Linked DNA regions of Homo sapiens: all the other regions are linked to region 3. Evidence: promoter capture Hi-C in 16 types of primary human blood cells and fetal thymus (Javierre and others, 2016). All regions are on one chromosome and are shown on one strand. The core of a region is centred on a gene start or on the middle of the fragment in contact, and the rest is flanking DNA. Distances in the headings are between cores, read along the strand shown.

What was found. The method cuts DNA at HindIII sites, captures the fragments that hold promoters and counts their contacts. A CHiCAGO score of 5 or more calls a contact.
Region 1: a fragment that was not itself captured here is called in contact with the fragment with the promoter of MLEC in region 3 in 1 of 17 cell types (naive B cells); the score reaches 5.7 in naive B cells.
Region 2: a contact is called between a fragment that was not itself captured here and the fragment with the promoter of MLEC in region 3, in 2 of 17 cell types (total B cells and naive B cells). The highest score is 6.5, in total B cells.
Region 4: a contact is called between a fragment that was not itself captured here and the fragment with the promoter of MLEC in region 3, in 1 of 17 cell types (total B cells). The highest score is 5.1, in total B cells.
Region 5: the fragment with the promoter of HNF1A-AS1 here is called in contact with the fragment with the promoter of MLEC in region 3 in 3 of 17 cell types (activated CD4 T cells, megakaryocytes and total B cells); the score reaches 6.7 in activated CD4 T cells.
Region 6: a fragment that was not itself captured here is called in contact with the fragment with the promoter of MLEC in region 3 in 2 of 17 cell types (total B cells and naive B cells); the score reaches 6.5 in total B cells.

What each region holds. Positions count from the first base shown.
Region 1 is chr12:121,195,515-121,199,016 of GRCh38, reverse strand. The region is part of intron 2 of LOC105370032 (a long non-coding RNA gene); the gene reads left to right. Among named protein-coding and RNA genes, the nearest start is that of P2RX4, 13 kb to the left of the region's middle. The HindIII fragment of the contact is 1,341 bases long and covers 806-2,146 here.
Region 2 is chr12:121,094,366-121,097,903 of GRCh38, reverse strand. No RefSeq gene overlaps it. Among named protein-coding and RNA genes, the nearest start is that of P2RX7, 37 kb to the left of the region's middle. The HindIII fragment of the contact is 3,941 bases long and covers 1-3,538 here.
Region 3 is chr12:120,685,336-120,689,072 of GRCh38, reverse strand. It overlaps MLEC (malectin), which reads right to left and starts at 1,924. Exons shown (of 5, transcript NM_014730.4): 1 at 1,542-1,924. The coding sequence starts at 1,776. It overlaps LOC105370029 (a long non-coding RNA gene), which reads left to right and starts at 1,924. Exons shown (of 3, transcript XR_945449.3): 1 at 1,924-2,219. RefSeq lists silencers at 1,566-1,865, 2,706-2,805 and enhancers at 1,620-2,121, 2,216-2,345, 2,436-2,545. The HindIII fragment of the contact is 12,504 bases long and covers 1-3,737 here.
Region 4 is chr12:121,111,546-121,115,304 of GRCh38, reverse strand. It overlaps LOC105370030 (a long non-coding RNA gene), which reads right to left and starts at 3,350. Exons shown (of 3, transcript XR_007063494.1): 1 at 3,251-3,350. The HindIII fragment of the contact is 2,011 bases long and covers 512-2,522 here.
Region 5 is chr12:120,970,720-120,974,248 of GRCh38, reverse strand. It overlaps HNF1A-AS1 (HNF1A antisense RNA 1), which reads left to right and starts at 1,957. Exons shown (of 1, transcript NR_024345.1): 1 at 1,957-3,529. RefSeq lists an enhancer at 837-1,364. The HindIII fragment of the contact is 11,110 bases long and covers 1-3,529 here.
Region 6 is chr12:121,066,456-121,069,861 of GRCh38, reverse strand. LOC105378258 (a long non-coding RNA gene) reads left to right here. Exons shown (of 4, transcript XR_007063492.1): 3 at 371-525. Among named protein-coding and RNA genes, the nearest start is that of OASL, 29 kb to the right of the region's middle. The HindIII fragment of the contact is 178 bases long and covers 1,897-2,074 here.

The DNA.
Region 1 (3,502 bases), core at 227-2,726, 510 kb before region 3:
TGGGGCGGCGGGGGTGGGGGGTCGGGGAACCAAGGAAACAAAGAACCCTGAAACAGATCTGTTAGAAAAGAAGGGGCTATTACAAGAAGCAGGGAGGCTTTCCAGGAAATGTGCCTTCCAAAACCCTATTTCTGGCCGGACGCAGTGGCTCATATCTGTAATCCCAGCACTTTGGGAGGCCGAGGCAGGCAGATCCCTTGAGTCCAAGAGTTCAAGACCAGCCTGGGCAACATGGCAAGACCCCATCTCTACAAAAAGTACAAAAAATTAGCCAGGCGTGGTGGCACATGTCTGTAGTTCCAGCTACTCAGGAGTCTGAGGTGGGAGGATCCCTTGAGCCCAGGAGGTGGAGAGCTAAGATCATACAACTGCACTCCAGCCTGGGTGACAGAGCAAGACCCTGTTTCAAAAAAACCCAAACCAGCCGGGCACAGTGGCTCACACCTGTAATCCCAGCATTTTGGGAGGCTAAGGTGGGTGGATCACCTGAGGTCAGGAGTTTGACACCAGCCTGACCAATATGGTGAAACCCCATCTCTACTAAAAATACAAAAATTAGCCAGGCATGGTGGTGGGCACCTGTAATCCCAGCTACGTGGGAGGCTGAGACAGGAGAATTGCTTGAACCCGGGAGACAGAGGTTTCAGTGAGCCGAGATCGCGCTACTGCACTTGCTGTGGGTGACAGAGTGAGACTGTGTCTCAAAAACAAAACAAAACAAAAACCGTGGGGAATTTTTTTTTAAAGTGTGAAAAAAAATAGAAAACTACATTTCTTGTGATCTTGTATCAGACACCTTCAAGCTTACCTGAAAGTTTGAATCAAAACAAAATAACAAAGTGTGCCTTTTATATAACTTGTCTCGTTGTGAAGACCCATCTGCTTTTTTCTCTGGTGAAGACAGGTTTTCTGAAACACACAGTGTTGAGTCTTTCCCATCCCTCAACAATTACTGGATTATTAGCTAAATAAGCATTCTCCAGCAGATCTAAATCTGACACAACAAGAATGCACGTTTCTTTGGCTCTGAACAGCATTTTATCTTTTGAAAACCACCTTCACGTGAGTGATACTCAGAATCCCATTTTACAGTTGAGTAAAAGCTCAAACTCATTTGTTTCTGATAAAACATTCTGGAGGTCTCCTTGCAAATTTTTCTGGTTCATTATGCCTCCCTTTATCCTCCATAAGATAATAGTTCATAGCCTATAGTCCCAGCTACTCAGGAGGCTTGAGCCCAGGAGTTCAAAGCCAGTCTGGGCAACATGGTGAGACTATGTCTCTAAAAAATAATTTAAAAAAAGATAGCCAGGCAGGGTGGCTCATGCCTGTAATCCCAGAACTTTGGGAGGCTGAGGTGGGCAGATCACGAGGTCAGGAGTTCGAGACCAGCCTGACCAACATGGTGAAACCCTGTCTCTACTAAAAATACAAAAATTAGCTGGGAATGGTGGTGGGTGCCTGTAATCCCAGCTACTCAGGAGGCTGAGGCAGGATAATTGCTTGAACCCGGGAGGCGGAGGTTGCAGTGAGCCGAGATTGTGCTGCTGCACTGCAGCCTGGGCAACAGAGCGAGACTCCATCTAAAAAAATAAAATAAAATAAAGAGATAATAATTGGTCGCTAAGAGGGAAGGAAGGAAAGCAGGACTCCTCAGACTCCAAAACTATCAACGTGTTATAACATTTTGCATTTTCAGTTGTTTTAGAGGTGGATAAGAATAACCTTTAAGTCCACATAAGAATCACAAAATGTTCTGTTGAGATTTCCCCAATTATTTATTTATTTATTTATTTTTGAGATGGATTTTCGCTCTTGTTGTCTAAGGCGTTAGGTGTGTGAGCTACACACCGAATCATGAGATACATGGCATGCAGTGATGTCAGCACAGCCAACAGGAAGTGTTTGTGGAGAGTAGCGCCCTATCCCTTTCTTCACTTGCTTCCCTTTTTCTCGTTTTTCTATCTCATGAGTTCCATTCTCTGGGCAATAGGAAATTGAGAGGGAAGTGGGGTGACTCAGTACAGTTAGTTTCTTTTGGCTTTCTTTGAAGCCGCCCTGCTTCTTGCAATAGCCCCTTCTTTTCTAACAGATCTGGGTCAAGTTTAACTAGCACAGGTTTAGCTACTGTCTCCAGAGTGAAGCTTGGGATGGACAAGGGGAGGGGGAATGGGCATCAAAGTAGGAAATTGAGTGGGAAGTGGGGGACAAAGTACAGTCAATTTCTTTGGGTCAGTGGAGGATAAAAGTTGCTTCTTTCCTGCCCTAAGAAATATCCAGAATGCTTATCTCTTGCCTTTAGTCATTTTACCCTAACCCAATTAGGGTTAGCATTAGGGCTAAGGTTAGGGTTAGCCTTAGGGTCAGCCTTAGCCTTCCATTTGGACAAAATCTGCCATTTGGCCGGGCGCAGTGGCTCATGCCGGTAGTCCCAGCACTTTGGGAGGTGAGGAGGGCAGATTTCTTGAGGCCAGGAGTTCGAGAACAGACTGGCCAACATGGCGAAACCCCATCTCTACGAAAATACAAAAATTATCTGCGTGTGGTGGTGCACACCTGTAATCCCAGTTACTTGGGAGGCTGAGGCAGGAGAATCACTTGAACCTGGTAGGCGGAGTTTGCAGTGAGCCAAGATCACGCCACTGTACTCCAGTCTGCACGACAGAGTGAGACTACAGCTCAAATAATAATAATAATGATAATAATAATAATAATAATAATAATAATAAAAATAGTGTGAACCCGGGAGGTGGAGCTTGCAGTCAGCCAAGATCGTGCCACTGCACTCCAGCCTGGGCAACAGAGTGAGACTCCGTCTCAAAAATAAATAAATAAATAAAATAAAAATAAAAATAAAAATAAAAATAATATAAATATGAAAATAAAGTTCTGCTTTAGCTGTGTGCCACCGATTTTGACATATATTACATTCATTATCCAGTTCTATTGAGTCATTTAGCAATATTTCTTACAATATTTCAATCAGCTTCCAAATATTTTAAAAATCTACCTCTTAAAAATTAATTTCTGGCTGGCGTGGTGGCTCACGCTTATAATCCCAACACTTTGGGAAGCTGAGGCAGGCAGATCACCTAAGGTCAAGAGTTCGAGTCCAGCCTGGCCAACATGGCGAAACCCTGTCTCTACTAAAAATACAAAAATTAGCCGGGCATGGTGGCAGGCGTCTGTAATCCCAGCTACTCGGGAGGCTGAGGTAGGGAGAATTGCTTGAACCCAGGAGGTGGAGGTTTCAGCGAGCCGAGATTGCACCACTGCACTCCAGCCCTGGCGACAGAGCGAGACTCTGTCTCAAATGAAAAAAAAAAAAAAAGAAAAAAAAGAAAATGAATTTCTAATTTCCTTGAAATGTGGTTAGAGAACCTGGTCTGTATCATATTGCTGTTGGGAATGTATTGAGGAAAATACATGATCTAATGCATATCTGTTGTTATAACCCTTCCTTGTGCATCCTAAAAAAGAATGTATGGGCCAGGCACGGTGG
Region 2 (3,538 bases), core at 440-2,939, 410 kb before region 3:
TTGATTATATATTTAAGTGACTGAATTCAGTTCTCTCTCATTTCCTGGACAATAGTTCTGTTTTTTTCAGATTATTCTGATCATTTCAAATTAAAGCGAAGACACATGATCAGTTCTCAAGTCCTATGTTCTCATTAGGAAAAATAGAAAAACATGCAACTCTAGCTGAATATGGTGGAAAATATTTTGTTAGAGGTCCTTTCATAGGGCCTTTGTCCAGATGTTTGGACCGAGGCCCCCGAGGGCATGGAGAGCCAGCCTGAAGGACAGCGTAGGGTGTGCCTGCAGGGAAGGTCGTAGCTCACCAGTGACAGAAGAGGCAGACTCCCCTTCTTCCAGGCCTTGGTCTTCTACATCCTAGCTCAGTGGTCATTTATTTGTCAGGCCCTTCATTTTACTGATTTAATAACGTGTTTAAGGCAGGGTGCGGTGGCTCACGCCTGTAATCCCAGCACTTTGGGAGGCCGAGGTGGGTGGATCATCTGAGGTCAGGAGTTCGAGACCAGCCTGACCAACATGGAGAAACCCATCTCTACTAAAAAAAAAAAAAAAAAAAAAAAATACCCCGACGTGGTGGCGCATGCCTGTAATCCCAGCTACTTGGGAGGCTGAGGCAAGAGAATAACTTGAACCCATGAGGTGGAGGTTGCAGTGAGCTGAGATCATGCCATTGCACTCGAGCCTGGGCAACAAGAGTGAAATTCCGACTCAATAATAATAATAATAATAATAATAATAATAACAACAATAATAATAATGTGTTTAAATAATTTATCTCATATCTCTGCACCTTCACTCCATTTCTTTTCAAAGAAACAGAGAAAAACAAAAACAAAATGTCATAGTTCTGGGCCGGGCACGGTGGCTCACACCTGTAATCCCAGCACTTCGGAAGGCTGAGGTGGGTGGGTCATTTGAGGTCAGGAGTTTGAGACCAGCCTGGCCAACACGGTGAAACTCCACCTCTACTAAAAATGCAAAAATTAGCCGTGCGTGGTGGTGGGCATCTGTAGTTCCAGCTGCTTGGGAGGCTGAGGCAGGAGAATCGCTGAGGGAGCCCGGGAGGTGGAGGTTGCAGTGAGCTGAGATTGTGCCACTGCACTCCAGCCTGGGCAACAGAGCAAGACTCTGTCTAAAAAAAAAAAAATAAAAGTCACAGTTCTACTTGACCCAGCAGCAGGCTTTAAAACCAGAGGCTTTAATTCTCCCAATTTCCTCATTTGTCAAAATGCAGAAGCCAATCTAAGTAAATCACCTAGAACGGCAGCAAGCTACGTAAGTTCGGGGCTGAAATGTGATATTTCTTCTGAATCTCTCTTTTCTTACAACATCAGAGAAATGGGTAATAAATAGCACCAAACCCAGGGGCTCCACATTTATTCCTCTTTCCGGAGGAAATAAATTCTAGCCACCATATTTCTCAATAGGAACCGATATGTAAGGAGAATGAATTTATTCATTCATGAGTCATGTATTCAATCCTGATAAAAATACTTTATTCTGGTCTTCAATAGCAAATATGACCGGAGAGCCAGAGGGTCAGTGGTCCTGCTCTGAGCTGTGCAGGTGGGGCTGTCTCTGGGTAGTGGGAGGGTCGGGTGGGTGTTTCTGACCTGGGCGTCTTTGCCCAGAGGAGCAGAAGTGAACACACGCCCTCCCACTGGGCTCTTCTGCTGACGTGGGTTGGTAGGACGGTTATGGCTCAGCTTAGGGTCCGCAGCTGGGCAATGAGGAGACTGGAGGGGCCTTTCTCAGGTAGTGGCGTCTGGTAATCAGCAGATGGCGCCCGAGGTCGCTGGGCCCGCCCCGCGTGCGGGTCTTTCTGGTTGACTCCCCAGGCTCTTGCGTGGGAACTCACCACTGAGCACTGAACGCAGTTCCTCAGTCCGAGACCTCCTCACTCTCGCAGGACGCACAGTTGCACACACAAGTCCCTCACCTGTCACGACCCACGCTCTTACATACTCTCCCACTCCCACCCACACCCCCTCTCTCAGATGTGTGATCCAGGATTTCCTCTCCACCCACAGCCGCAGACGCCCCCACGGTTCGTGCAAATGTGCACACTCGGTGCAGCAGATCCCCGCCTCCTGCACACGTGCGCGTTTTTCCAGCCTCGCACTTTATCTCACACGTTTTCTCACCCAGAGACCCCATTTCAGACACACACACCCTCTCAGCCTTTTCTCTTGCCTCCCAACCCCTTAAAACGGAAATCCTTTATTTCCTCCGGAATTTGCTCACTTCGTGAAATGCCGGTCTGTCTTCTGGCGGATCCTATAGGGCAGCCCTTTCCTGCCCCTTGGTTCCAACAGCCCCTTTCATGCCAGTTTTTGTCACGTGCCTCTTACCATGCTGAAGTGAAATTGACCCAGCCATCACACAATGCCCTAACTCAGGGGTCTGCAAACAATGGCCCCAGAAAGCTGTTTGTTTTCCCCCAGCTTTATCTGAATATGCTTGAAAAGTAAACATTGTATATATTTAAAGTGGGCAACCGGATATTTAATACACATTGTGAAATGATCACCGCAAACTAAAACACCCACCATCTTACATTGTTACCACTTTCTTTCTTTTTTGGAGGTGGGGTGGTTAAGGATCTTAAGATCTACTCTCTTAAGAAATTTCAGGTATACAACAGAGTGTTGTTACACGCTGTACGTTACATCTCCAGAACTTACTCATCTTGTATAACTGACACTTTATACCCATTAAACAACACCCCGTTTTCTCCAACCCTCAGTCCCTGGCAACGACTATTCTACTCTACTCTCTGCTTCTATGAGTTTGGTTAGTTTAGATTCCACATATAAGTGAGATCATGCAGTATTTATTTATTTATTTATTTATTTATTTTTCTTGATGTGGAGTCTCGCTCTGTCGCCCAGGCTGGAGTGCAGTGGTGCCATCTTGGCTCACTGCGACCTCTGCCTCCTGGGTTCAAGCGATTCTGCCTCAGCCTCCCGAGTAGCTGGGACTACAGGCGTGCACCACCACAATCTATTTTTGTATCTTTAATAGAGATGGAGTTTCACCATGTTGGCCATGCTGGTCTCAAACTCCTGACCTCAGGTGATCCACCTGCCTCAGCCTCCTGAAGTGTTGGGATTACAGGCGTGAGCCACTGTACCAGGCTGAGATCATGCAGTATTAGTCTTTCTGTGCTTACTTATCTCACTTAGCATAGCAGGTTCATCCAGGCTGTTGGAAATGGCAGGATTTCCTTCTTTTTTGGAGCTGAATAATATTCCATTGCGTAGACACGTTTCCCTCACCCATTCATCTGTGGATGGATGTTATTTTCCATAATGGCTGTACAAGTTTACATTTTTACTAACAGTGTACAGTGATCCCTTTCCCCCACATCCTCAATAACAGTTGTTATCTTTCCTCTTTTGGATAATAGCCATTCTAACAGGTGTGAGGTGATGTCTCATTGAGGTTTTGATTTGCATTTCCCTGATGATTAGTGCTGTTGAGCACTTTTTCATACACCCGTTGGGCATTTATATGTCTTCTTTTGATAAATATCTGT
Region 3 (3,737 bases), core at 675-3,174:
GGTATCTGCTAAGTGAAAGAAACCATCCGCTCAGCACCCTCACCACCGCTATCTCAAGAGGCAAAGTCCACAAACTGTCTAGTTTCCTCAAGGGCTCTTTCCTCCCTGCCCACACTCGTGAAGAAAGAGGAAGGGTCCAGGATAGAGATAGTAATGACCTCCTGCTATAAAGTCTGGCTTTGGCTGCTGTTACCGCTGCTAAAGACTGGAGCCCTGAGTCAGCTGAACCCAGGCTACTGTGATCTACATGCCAGGGCTCAACAAACTCCAAGACAAACATAGAACTTCACAAAACAGCCCTGTGTCCCAAGACCCTCACATGTGTGAAAGGCAATAAACTCCTTAATATAACAAACTCCAGGACACTGCAATCGACTTGGGAAGAACTAACTATTTTAGTAAAAGCAAGAGCCAAATCTGGGCATCGCAGAAAAAGAATGAGAGAAAGTGAAGAGTGAGTCTGTCTCCTGGTTGTCTGGAGGTGGCATACTGCCAATTTGGTAGCCTCTGAACCCAGCATACAGTATCAATCTCCTAGCAAAGAACTTCCTTCTGAAACCTGTTTTCCAATCCCTCCAACAGAAGAAACAAAGATTATAAAGCTGATCTTCCAAAACGGTGGTCTCGGGGCAACCTACATCACAAGCCCCTGGTGCAGAAACCTGGATCCCAGCAAAAAAGCTCAATCTACTATAATCAATTTCGAGTGGGGACTAGGAATCTGCATTTTTAACCAGCTGCCCTGGCAATTCTGACACACACTAACTTTGGGAAGGGAGCAGCTCCGTTAAAAACCACTGTTGCCCAGCAAGTTAAGTCACAATCATTTTCCCCCTAAGCTGGAATTAGAACTCTCAGGATCACCTAGGGGAGGTTGTAAGCATTCTCTGATAGACCATTCGGATTCTTACACTGGTTGACCCAGTTCACACACAGCCACCAGCCTCACGTGCAGGATGGCTTCGATAGAACCACCCTCTGGGGGCGGCCTGCCGATTCTACTTTTAAGCACACATATTCTTCGCTCGAAAAGAGGGCGGGGGAGGAGGCTACAATCAAACTTTCCTGGCCCATTCTCTTCGAAGATTCCTTCCTATTCTGGCTAAGAATCAAGCCCCGCTCCTGCAGAAGGGGCAAGGAAAGCGGCCGATTCCTGGGTCGACGAGAATCTCCCAAGAACTGTCTCGACAGGAGAAGCAGGGGCACCCATGACCTACAACCCGCGAGGCCTGGAGGTAGCAAAAGGCCGCCTTCGTCATTTCTCTCCCAGCTTGGATGGGAGTGAGGGGTTGAGAAAATGCAGGATGAGAAATCCAAATATAACTAACTTCTGGCCAACTCTCTGCCTGTATGACTCTAGGTACCTTGGAGCCAGTGCCAGGCCCTGAGCTCAGAGCGGGCCCCCGAAGAAGCTGCAGAGAGAAACTTCGCTCCAGAGACGCGGCCCCAGGGTCGAAAGGGGCTCGGGGCCCGCAGCCCCCGGCCGGCTGCGCCCAGCACAGCAGGCCCTGGATCCCGCGGCTCGGCAGGGGGACTCTCACCTCGGCCCACCCGGCCTTCCAAAGGGTCCTTGCGGAAGTGGATCCCGTGCACGTCCACATGCGCCTCTCCACCCGCGTTGACCGCCCAAATGACGCTCTCGGGCAGCCCGGCCCCCGCCGCGCCGGCCACGCCGGCCACGCCGAGCCCGGGTCCCCGGATCGCCGGCGGCAGCAGCAGCAGCAGCAGTCGCAGGAGCGCCACAGCGGTTCCCTCAACCGCCCAGGCTCCCAGCATGGCGGCCACCACCACGGGGGCAGCCCCCGCCGACCCTCGTCCTCGGCCGGCTGCCAGGCCACCCCGGACTCAGAAAAACAGCGCCACGGGCCGCTCCGCCTGAGCCGCCGGGGACATGTCGCTCTCAGGCCTCCTTCTTCTCAGCCACGGGTACCGCCTCCCACCTCAGGAACAACCTACCCCGCCGCCCTGCCCCCGGCCACGACGCTGCAGCCAATCAGCGCCCGGCCCTCATTAATTACCCACCACCCCGCCGGGAGGCGCCCGCTCATTGGCTGTCAGGCGCGGGAAAGGGCGTGGCTTCTCCCAGGCGCCGGCCCAGCAGTCGGGCACCAGATGGAGCGCGCGCAGAGGGAGTGAGTTCGGTTGAAGCGGCGGTTCGATGCGGAAGTGGCGGGTGCAGCGCCCAGGCGGCCCCGGAATCCCACAGCTGAATGGGAAAGGTGGCCTGGGGGGGGAAGGTTTAGGGTAGGGCGCACTGACATGTCGCCAGCACTTCCGGTGCTCTAGCTCCTGAGACCAAATAGGCTCTGGAGGGGGCGTGGCCGACTTTCCCGCCCCCTCTTCTTTTCTCAGGGAGCAGCATGAGCATAAATTCTAGTAGGAGAAGCAATGGACACTCTCCAGACCTAAGAGACGCAGTCCTTTTCCCCGCGTGAGGGAGAGGACCCATGCTTTCCCAGAGAGGCCGCGGACACAGGTCTCCAGGGAACGAATCCCATGAGAATAAGGCCCCGCCCCCTCCCCTTAGCGGGCTCGGGGCGGGTGGTAGCGTCCAGACGGCCGTCCAATGAGAAGGCTCCAACGCAGCGGAAACGCGTGGCTTTGAGAGCGAGTGGGTGCCAGGCTGCTCGCGTCTCCATGGCGACGGCCTCTGGCCGGCCTCCGCTGCGTAGGGGCGGGACCGAGGCACCCTAGGCGCTGGCGGGAGTCGCCGCCGGCGGTGCCCAGAGTGGATACCGGGGTTGTCCCGCACGGGCACGGCCCGAACTCCCTCCCTGCTCCTTCACAGTTCACCTGGCGCTCTCCCACACTGGCGATCCCTGCGCTTCGGTCGCTGTTCAAACTCCCATTTTTCCGATGGGGAAACTGAGGCATAGAAAGGGACTGAATTTTGCCAAAGGGTCGCACCGCAAGTGTAGGGCAGAGTCAAGGCAAAAACAAAAAAAACAAAAAAACGCTTATGCATTTTCCATAAATACTGGTCGATTTAGAAATTCTCCCTAAAAGGAAAAAAATGTATCAAGTCCCTGCTACCAGGGTTGTCAGATTTGGCAGATAAAATAGGAGAAGCCCAGTTATATTTGAATTTCAGATAAGCAAATGGGACCCACTTATACTAAAAAAAAAAATGCATTGTTTATTAAAATTTAAACAACTGGACTTCTTGTATTTTATCTACCAATCCTACCTACTACTTAGGCAATGAGCTTTGTGCTACATGAACAAAAAACACACCTGGGGTCCCGCATGAGAATCATAGACTTTGCACAACCCATAATGAAATTAATTGTTTAGTTAGAACAGTGGTAAGTGCTATACGGGAACAAAACAGGGTGCCAAAATAGAGACTATCAGTGGTGGATCTAAATGCACCCAAATTCCTTCCCAGGCCCCAAATTCAGACCCCATGGGGGTAACTTTTGGAAGTGTTCCCTCCCGGTCTCACTTTCCCCCCTATTTTGCAAGCATCTGGCCTTACTTCCTCCCATAGACATGTTTCCTGTCCAAGGTGTTTCTTTTTTTTTTTTTTTCTGTCTTTTTTGGAGACAGAGTCTTGCTCTGTCGCCAGGCTGGAGTGCAGTGGTGCAATCTCGGCTCATGGCAACCTCCACCTCCCGGGTTTAGGCGATTCTGCTGCCTCAGCCTCCTGAGTAGCTGGGACTACAGGCGCGCGCCACCACACCCAACTAGTTTTTTTTATTTTTATTAGAGACCGAGTTTCACCATGTTGGCCAGGA
Region 4 (3,759 bases), core at 268-2,767, 430 kb before region 3:
ATTTCTTCATCTGTAAAGTGAACATTGGTGGCATTTTGCCCATATAGTTGTTGCGAGAATAACCAAGATAAAATGACCCCTTACTATGTGCTATTTACAAATGTTAGCTGTAATTATGCTTTTGCTTTCCAATTTAACTAGCCAGGTAGGTAGGTAAGTAGGGGGAGAGAGAGAGGGAGAGAAGGAGGAAACAGCAAAAATAAAAGCATTTTTTTCTCTGATAATTTGAGGAAAATATACTTGTCTAGACCAGTGGTTCTCAACTAGGGATGACTGTGTGCCCCAGGGACGTTTGGCAATGTCTGGAGACATCTTAGTTGTCACGACTGAGGGAGTGCTACTGGCATCTGCAGCCAGGGGTGCTGCTAATCTATAGGACAACCCCTGTGACAAAGAAATACCTGGTTCCAATGTGCACAGTAGCCAGGCATGGTGGCTCACACCTGTAATCCCAGCACTTTAGGAGGCTGAGACAGGAGGATAGCTTGAGCTCAGGAGTTCAAGACAAGCTTAAGCAATACAGGGAGACCCTATCTCTACAAAAAATACAAAAAAATTAGCCAGGCATGGTGGCGTGTGCCTGTAATCGCAGCTACTTAAGAGGCTGAGGTGGGAGGATTGCTTCAGCCCAGGAGGTTGAGGCTGCAGTGAGCTGTGATTGTGCCACTGTACTCCAGCCTGGGCCACAGAGTGAAACCCTGTCTCAAAAACAGCAACAACAACAACAAAAAACAAAAGTGTCCCCAGTGCCTAGGCTGAGGAATCCTGGTCTATCATACATTGACATCTCTGATATTAAGGGCCACAGTGCAAGGTACAGTGTCTGGCACATAGTAGGTGCTCAATGAATGTTTGACAACCACATGAATGAATGAATCAATCAATCACAGAATGGATGAATCATCGAATGAATGAATGATTATATAGTTCATTTGTCATTTGGCTGAGTGCCTGGGACAGGGCTGCATCCGAGCAGCTGTTCATTAAATAGGTATGGACAGGTTCCTGTAAATGTTCCCTTCTGAAGCAGCTGGGGAGTGAGGTCCTGGCGGGGGAACACCCGGCCTCACAGCTGTGGTTCCAGGTCATGATAAATTGCTGTGGGAAGCCACAGAGCAGACAGCTCATCACACATTGTAATGGATTCATTGTCTTCTCTCGTGGCCCCCTTTATCTCAAACTCTCAGCAGACAAGGGTTAAAAGGGAGTGAGCTGAGTGAGGGCCTGTGGATGCTGCTCTTCAGGAAAAGGAGGGAAAATGAGCCCAGACAGGATCATCGTTAACCGGCTCCAAGGTCAAGAGCCGGGTTAGAACGTTAGAATTAGAGATGGGGGCAGGGATGGCGGCGGGACTCTCTCCATCACCACACCCTATCTAATTCATTTATTCAACAAATATTTATTGAGTACCAGAGACTCTTTGGGCATATGTGAGTTAACAAAACAGATGAAATCCTTACCCTGTTGGAATTTATATTTTAAAGAAGCAGGATGAACAATGGACACATAGGCCGGACATACCATGTGTGAGGGGCCCTGTGCATTAGGAGAAAAATCAGGTAGGGAGGGAAGATAAGGCATGTTTGGGGCTGAGTTTTTCCATTGAGGTGAAATTCAAATAACATGAAATTAATCATTTAAAAGTGAACAATTGGCCAGCGCGGTGGCTCAGGCCTGTGATCCCAGCACTTTGGGAGGCTGAGGCGGGAGGATTGCTTGATCCCAGGAGTTAGAGACCAACCTAGGCAACACGACAAGACTCCATCTCTGTTTTTTTTTAAGTGAACAATTGAGTGGCATTTAGTTCATTCACAGTGTTATGTAACCACTATTTCTGTCTAGTTCCAGAACATTCTCATCACCCCAAAAGGAAACCCCGTACCCATTTGGCCATTCCTCCTCCTCCAGCCCCTGGTAACCGTTGCTTTTCTTTCTCTGTGTGGGTTTGTCTGTTTTTGGATATTTCACATAAATGGCATCATACACTATGTGGCCTTTTGTGACTAGCTCCTTTCACAAGAATCTCACCTTGTTTTCAAGGTTCATTCATGTGGTAGCATGTGCCTTTCATTCTTTTTTATGGCTGAGTAAAATTGAATCACATGGATAGACCACATTTTGTTAATCCATTCGTCTGTTTAGGGACATCTGGGTTGTCTCCATCTTTGGCTACTGTGAATAGTGCTGTTGTGAACATTTAGGTTACAAGTATCTGTTTGAGGCCAGGCATGGTGGCTCACGCCAGCAGTCCTAGCACTTTGGGAGGCCGAGGCGGGTGGATCACTCGAGATCAGGAGTTCGAGACCAGCCTGGCCAACACGGTGAAACCCCATCTCTACTAAAAATAAAAAATAAAAATAAAAATGGTATCTGCTTGAGTCCCCATTTTCAATTCTTTGGGGTAAAAACCTAAAAGTGGAACTGCTGGGTATATGGTAATTCTATGTTTAACTTTTTTAGGAATGGCCAGTTTCCCACAGCAGCAGCACCATTTTACACTCCTATCAGTAATATACAAAGCTTCCAATTTCTTCATCTCCTCACCAATACTTGTTATTTTCCATTTTTAAAATAACAGTCATCCTAGTGATAGGAAGTCGTGTGTCCTGTGGTTTTGATCTGTGTTTCCCTAATACATATCATTACGTGGTGAGCATCTTTTCATGTGCCCATTGGCCGTGTATATATATCTTCTTAGATAGTCCTTTGCTCACTTTTGACGTTGGTCATTTGTCTTTTTGTTACTGAGTTAAAAGCATGGAGCTAACTTATTTTTATTTATTTTTATTTTTTTATGTTTTTTGAGACAGAGTCTCATTCTGTCGCCCAGGCTGGAGTGCAGTGGCGCAATCTCGGCTCACTGCAACCTCCGCCTCCCAGGTTCAAGTGATTCTCCTGCCTCAGCCTCTCAAAGTGCTAGGATTACAGGTGTGAGCCATGACGCCCAGCCTGAACTTTTAAATAGGGTGATCAGAAAAGACCTCCCTAAGATGATGACTTTTTTTTTTTTTTTTTTTTTAAGATGGAGTCTCACACTGTTGCCCAGGCTGGAGTGCAGTGGCGCGATCTCGGCTCACTGCAAGCTCCGCCTTCCGGGTTCACGCCATTCTCCTGCCTCAGCTTCCTGAGTAGCTGGGACTACAGGTGCCTGCCACCATGCCCAGCTAATTTTTTGTATTTTTAGTAGAAACTGGGTTTCACCATGTTAGCCAGGATGGTCTACGATCTCCCGACCTCGTGATCCACCCACCTTGGCCTACCCAAAGTGCTGAGATTACAGGGTGAGCCACCGCGCCCGGCCAGATGATGACTTTTAAGTGAAGACCTTAAGAAGGTGATGGGGGATGCCAAGGTGATATCTGAGAAGAGCATTCCAGGCAGAGAGGATGTCACATGCAAAGGCCCTGAGGTAAGTCACTTTCATTTGTCTGCAACTCGGTTTTCCTGTCTGCAAATGGGGAGGAATAAAACCATGAAGCATCACGTCAAATGCTGGCAAATTATCAACACCTGGGTTCCCCACAACTCTTGCTCTTAAGCAAGATACTTAATGTCTCAGAGCTTCCATTTGCTCACCTGTAAAATGGTGATAATAATAATTGTACCGACCTCACAGTGTTATCAGATTAAAAGAAATATGATTTGCCAGGGCTTGGCACACAGTAGTGTTCAGAAATGCAGGGTTTGAACCCAGACCAGGAGGACTTCCAGTCCTGAGGGGCGATCACAGCTCACTGCAGCCTTGACCTCCCAGGCTCA
Region 5 (3,529 bases), core at 708-3,207, 290 kb before region 3:
GCCACATTGCCCAGGCTGGTCTCAAACTCCTGAGCCCAAGCCATCTGCCCACCTCGTCCTCCCAAGGTGCTGGGATTACAGGGGTGAGCCACTGCACCCTGCCTATTTATTTACTTTTCTTAGAGATGGGGGTCTTGCTTTGTTGCCCAGGCTGGTCTCGAACTCCTGGGCTCAAGCAATCCTCTCACCTCAGCCTCCCAAAGTGTTGGGATTACAGGCATGAGCCATCTCACCTGGCCAGTAATGTATTTCACTCCAAGAACAACTCATGAATTAGGAACTGTTATAATCCCCCTTCTGCAGGGGAGGAAAGAGAGGCTCAGAGAGGTTAAATGACTGCTCAGAGTCCCTCAGAGCTGGGCTTTAAGTCCACCTGAGGCAGGCGGACGGGCTGTGCAGGACAAGTTGGCAGCCCCCGCCTTAAGGAGAGTGGTACCCTCTTTCCTCCAGTGCATTTATGTTTTATTTTTATTTTTGAGACAGAGCCTCACTTTGTCACCCAGGCTGGAGTACAGTGGTGCGATCTCAGCTCACTGTAACCTCTGCCTCCTGGGTTCGAGCAATCCTCCTACCTTAGCCTCCTGAGTAGCTGGGACTACAGGCACACACCACCATGCCTGGCTAATTTTTGTATTTTTGGTAGAGACAGGGTTTCACCATGTTTGCCAGGCTGGTCTCAAACTCCTGGCCTCAAAAGATCCACCCACCTCGGCCTCCCAAACTGTTGGGATTATAGGCGTGAGCCACCGTGCCCGGCCAAGTGCATTTTTTTGTAAACCCCCGTGCAAGTTGCTTTGAGGTTGAGCAGCTTACTGCTGGGGACAGCATTCTCAAGTCCAGGCTAAACAGGGAAGATGCTGTGTGCTGTCCCTTTGTGGCTTTGAGGTTCTCCTGCTTATTCTCTTTGCTGCCTGCAGCTGCCTCTTGGTGACTTTCCCTTTCCAGGGAGCCAGAGGAACCAAGGAGTGTTGGCCCTGACTCCTGCCCCCAGCATGTAAACTCATTAACTGCTGGGTCCTCAGGCAGTTAGGTGGCTGAGCATTTGAGTCTGGGACGGCAGGTGGATTTGGTTGGAGAGGGAATGACAGAGATTGGGGAGGAGCCTCCAGAGTCTAAAGAGATAGGTACACAAGCAGAAAGTTCCAGCCCCCAGCCTGCCTTTCCCCCATGCTCAGGGGACAAAGCTGAATTAACTCGAGGTCAGGAATGGCATTTGCATTTGCATTCTTGAGAGTCACTGCAAATAAGAGCTGTAGTCATGGTGAGTGGTTAAGGCAATGGACTAGAGAACCACTGAGAAAAAAAGCGAACAGTGGCTGGGCGCAGTGGCTCATGCCTGTCATCCCAGCACTTTGGGAGACCGAAGTGGGTGGATCACTTGAGGTCAGGAGTTCGAGACCAGCCTGGCCAACATGGTGAAAACCCGTCTCTACTAAAAATACAAAAATTAGCCAGGCTTGTCAGTGGGCACCTATAATCCCAGCTAGTCGGAAGGCTGAGGCAGGAGAATCACTTGAACCCAGAAGGCAGAGGTTGCAGTGAGCTGAGATCATGACACTGCACTCCAGCCTGGGTGACAGAGAGAAACTCCGTCTCAAAAAAAAAAGAAAAAGAAAAAAAAAAAAAGGAACAGCCGGACATGGTAGCTCATACCTGTAATCCCAGCGCTTTGGGAGACCGAGGCAGGTGGATCACCTGAGGTCAGGAGTTCCAGATCAGCCTGGCCAACATGGTAAAACCCCATCTCTACTAAAAATACAAAAATTAGCTGGATGTGGTGGCGCACACCTGTAGTCCCAGATACTCAGGAGGCTGAGGCAGGAGAATAGCTTGAACCCGGGAGGCGGAGGTTGCAGTGAGCAGAGATCACGCCACTGCACTCCAGCCTGGGCGATAGAGTAACAATCCGTCTCAAAAAAATCTGAAAATTAAAAATTAAAAAGTGAACAGTTGTTTAGTAAGTGCAGTAGGTAGGCCAAGATAACTATTAAGTATGTCCTAACAAGGTAGCTGCTTGAAAAAAATAATGCACATAAATTAAAAAAAAAAAAACTATTTTCACTCATTCTTAACTTCTCGTATGGATGTACTAACGGGAGGCCTGTGCCTGTTGGGCTGTCCACAGCTACTCAAACCTTGAGATTAGATTGGACGCTATCTAATCTCATTTCCTGTTACACAATAACTTCTGCATGGCACTTGCTTTTAATCATGACAACTGCCATACACTCAGCTTTACAAAATCATGTCATTGTGGAAAGGAAGTTCCCTCCATCTAACATTCAAATTTAACTATCCTGAGCTGGTAGTTTGCAAGGTGTCCAACAGATGTCACTGTGTTTCCTTCGCAAATTCTCTAAAATAGTCTGCTGTGTCCCGGGGCATAGTAGATATTCAAGAAATGGTGGCTATGAGTTTTATCACAATTCTCTCCTACTGGGTGAGCAGCTGTTTGCAAGACTAAAATTCGGGCGAGGCACAGGCTTCCCCTTGGTCTTAGCAGCTAGCACAAGACGAGTGTCCCTTCAGCCAGTCTCAGAGCTCTTTGGCAATTCAACTGACCCTTGTCCTTCAGTCCAGACAATGCCCCAGGGCCCACCTGCATTCAAACTCGGACTGTTCTCCTTCCCACCCCTATTATCTTTTCAACTTTATGGACAGTACATGCAATTTTCTCATTCATTTTCTCATTTAACATCTAACAGCTTCATGATATCCCCATTTTACAGATAAGGAAACCAAGGCTTTAAGAGGATAGGGACCCTAATCGGCTAAGGCAGAATTAGGATTTGAACCCAGATCCCCATGACGCCAGAATCTAAGCCTTGACCAAATATGTGTTACTATTACTTTTGTTGTTGTTGTTGTTCTGGGTAACTCCAACCCTCTGCTCGTTGGCCTTGTCACCTCAGTGCTGATTTTGCAGATGAAGAGACTAAGGTTCCGAGGTGCTAGAGCACAGTGGTTAGGAACACACACTCTAGAGCCAGAGTGCCTGGGTTTGAGCCTCGTTCTGCCGTTTACTAGCCGTATGGCCTTGGGCAACTTGCTTAACTTCTCTTTGCCTCAGTTCCTCTTCTCTTGGGTTGTTAGGAGAATGAATGAGGTGATATCCACAGTGTCCAACACCCTGCAAGCGGCCAGGTGTGGTGGATCACACCTGCAATCCCAGCACTTTGGGAGGCCGAGGCAGGTGGATCATTTGAGGTCAGGAGTTCGAGACCAGTCTGGCCAACATGGCGAAACCTCATTTCTACTAAAAATACAAAAATTAGCCGGGCGTGGTGGCAAACAACTGTAATCCGAGCTACTAGGGAGGCTGAGGCAGAAGAATCGCTTGAACCCAGGAGACAGAGGTTGCAGTGAGCCAAGATTGCACCACTGCACTCCAGCCTGGGCGACAGAGTGAGACCCTGCCTCAAAAACTAAAAATAAAAAATGAACAGTGTCCAACACCTTGAAAGCATTCCGCATGACTGAACGATCACTGTTACGTGATTACCAACATGACGACCCCACTTCTCTTGGC
Region 6 (3,406 bases), core at 736-3,235, 380 kb before region 3:
CTAAATGCATAGTAATATATAGAGATAAGTGGAAAAATTAACTTTGATAATTATATTGTTAGAGAAATATGATTTTTATTTAATTAAAATATTAAATACTATTTTTTATTTTTAATAAAAAATATATTTTAAAAAGTAAAAAAAATACGATTTTTATTTAATATCAACTAATGCTATCTTTTATCTAATTCCAAACAGTTTGTTTATAGGTTCTAGAAATATTAGATCTCTCAGGAATGGTAGAAATATGACTTTTTAGGGAAATATGACTTTTAGAAATATAACTTTTAGAGAAATATGATTTTTATAACTGAATATCTATTTATGCTGTCTTTTATCTAATTCTGAACAGTTTGCTTATTGCTTCTAGAAATATTAGATCACTTAGGAATGATAGAAATATCTGGTGATGGAATTTCAAGAATGGAACCTCTGGCCGGGCGTGGTGGAGACAGAGTCTCACTCTGCACCGTGCCGGCCAGATTTTGGTATTTCTTATGGGAAACCTGAGTTCCTGCATTAGAGGTATGTTCACACTGGCCTGTTGAATGCTGTCCTCTTAAATGTATTTAAAAATTATCCTCTGTATTTTTCGTATGCGGTTATAAATGTGTTTTGGGGATCTATTTTATTCCTTAATTTATATATTTGATTCTAGCGTCAAGCAGGTTCCCTTTGAATTTTTCCTTTAAAGAACATGTGCTATTTCCTATTACATCCTGTACCCCTCAAACTGCCCAATTAGGTATACTCCTGGGGAAAATATGGCAAAGTTTGTTGTAATGCAGTTTTTTTACCTAATTAAGTAGCTACTAAAATAATTAATTTCAAAAATTTGGAGCAAACCTAGAAAGATGCAGATGTCTTTGTGGCTTTTCACGCAATCAAGTTTACCTATCTTTGCTTTTAATATGTATTTCCTCTTGATGAAATGTTTATTTAGTTTAGTAAACTTGGGATATGTCATTTATATCCATAAATCAACTTTTTAAAAAAGAGATAATAAGAATGTGTATTGTCTATGTGTTCGTGTGTAAAACAAGATCCACTTTTATTTTTTATTATTTATTTTATGATTTGAGTTTATTTTATAAATGAGTTTATGCAGAATCATAGAGGTATCAACTACAGTCAATCACCCAACCTACTTACCTTTCCAAAGGTAAATATACTCAAGTACAATCATTTTTTTCTCATCCAAAGAGTAGCCCATATTGAATAAAGATAGGGACATGAAATGAATCGGTAGACACTATTAACCAAGAATATACAGATTTATTCACACCAAGAAACAAGTAAGTCATATGGATATATATATAAAGATAAATTTAAAAATAATAAGGTGATAATTGTACAAGTTTGCATATAGAGCTGCAGCTCTGAAAAACTGTTTATATTGTTTTGATATATTGTGTGACTTGTTCCCCTAACCCATCACCCGGAGTTGATGCTAAGATACTGTTGGTTCCATGACTCGGAAGCAATCTAAGGTTAGAGGCACTTACATTTGCTAGGAATAAATAAGGCAAGATGATATTTTTCACCACTTTTAGCACAGCAGACTTGTCAGTAGATAAGCGGCTCCACCCAGGACACTGGTATTCATCTCATTCGCACAGCTCATCTGTTGACCATGACTCAAGCAACTGGACCACTCTGGAGGACCATAGTGCCCTTTAAAAAATTTTTTTTTGTATTTTTAGTAGTGACAGGGTTTCCCCATATTAACCAGGCTGGTCTCGAACTCTTGACCTCAGGTGATCCACCTGCCTTGGCATCCCAAAGTGCTGGGATTACAGGCATAAGCCACCGTGCCAGGCCTCCTAATGTGCCCTTTTATGTGGAGTGGCCATTGAGTGTGCACTCAGCCAGACACAGACAGCATTTTTGAAAGCTTTATCTGAGTATTTCAAAATTGAGTATGAATTTGGATAAAGTGGTTGGTTGTAGACCAAGCAGGAAGATGTCATAGAAAGAACAATGGCTTGGGAGTTCGGAATCCCGGGCTTGCATGAATCTTTGAGCTTGTTAAGTCGTGCAATCTAAAGCAAGGCATTTCACTGATAATTAAGCTTCATGAGCATTTGCACTGATAACATTATACACATTGAACAATTCAGAAGTCACCACATACGTATGGCGTGGCTTACTCTCACCTTTCACCGGTTGGAGAAAAAGAGACAGAGATGAATGTGATCAAGTTTATGAGCTCCTAAGTAAAAGAGCCAAGATGGGAACCCAAGCATGTGGCTCCAGCGCCGAGGCTCTGAGCAACGGATGCACCATCATCACTCAGCTGTGGGACCACCAGTCACTGTGCAAAAGAGTTCCATCATCTGTATGTATTGACACGTCTGGAATTATCTGAGCCTATAGAGTTCCTACACACTATCCACAATATATGCTGGTGTCAGTGGGCACATAGCCCAGCACAGGTATTAGTGCATAAATACCACAGGTTTATCATAGTCATTATGTGAAACCCACTTAGAAAGCCCAAATGCTTTCGGACAGCTCGTAGATTTTGAGAGCTCGGGGACACCACTTGGGACAGCCAGTAAAATTCTTTCAGTGCTTGGCCGCTCCTCAGCACCTGTCCCAAACTGATAAATAACGAGAAGACTCTTTTTTCCAAACGGAGTTTGGCTCTTGTTGCCCAGGCTGGAGTGCAATGGCACCACTTCGGCTCACTGCAACCTCCATCTCCCGGGTTCAAGCCATTCTCCTGCCTCAGCCTCCTAAGTAGCTCAGATTACAGGTGCATGCCACCACGCCCAGCTAATTTTTTGTATATTTAGTAGAGAAGGGGTTTCACTGTGTCGGCCAGGCTGGTCTCAAACTCCTGACCTCAGGTGATCCACCTACCTCGGCCTCCCAAAGTGCTGGGATTATAGGCGTCAGCCACCGCGCCCAACCAGTACCTATTTTCTTTGAAACATAACAACTCTCTCATCTTCATCCTAAAATGTTCAAAGCATATTAAAGGGCAAAAACCACAGTATGAAGAGACAGAGCATGCATCAGAGCCAGACTGCAATATACAGAGATTTGATGATTATCAGACTGATAACTATGATTAATATGCTAAAGGCTCTAATGGAAAAAGTGGATGAGATTCAAGAACCAATGGGATGTAAGTAGAGAAGTGAAAACTCTAAGAATCAAAAGGGAATGCTAGAAATAAAAAATGCCGTAACAGAAACGGAGAAGGCCTTTGATGGACCCGTCAGTGGACTGCACGTGGTTGATGAAGAAATCCGTGAACCTGAGAAAATGTCAATAGAACTTCCCAAACTGAAAAGCAAGAGAAAAAAAGACTGAGGAAAACAGAAAAAAATATCAAAAAATGGCGGGACAATTACAAAAGGTATAACATCTTCGTAAAGGGAATTCTAAAAGGAGAAAA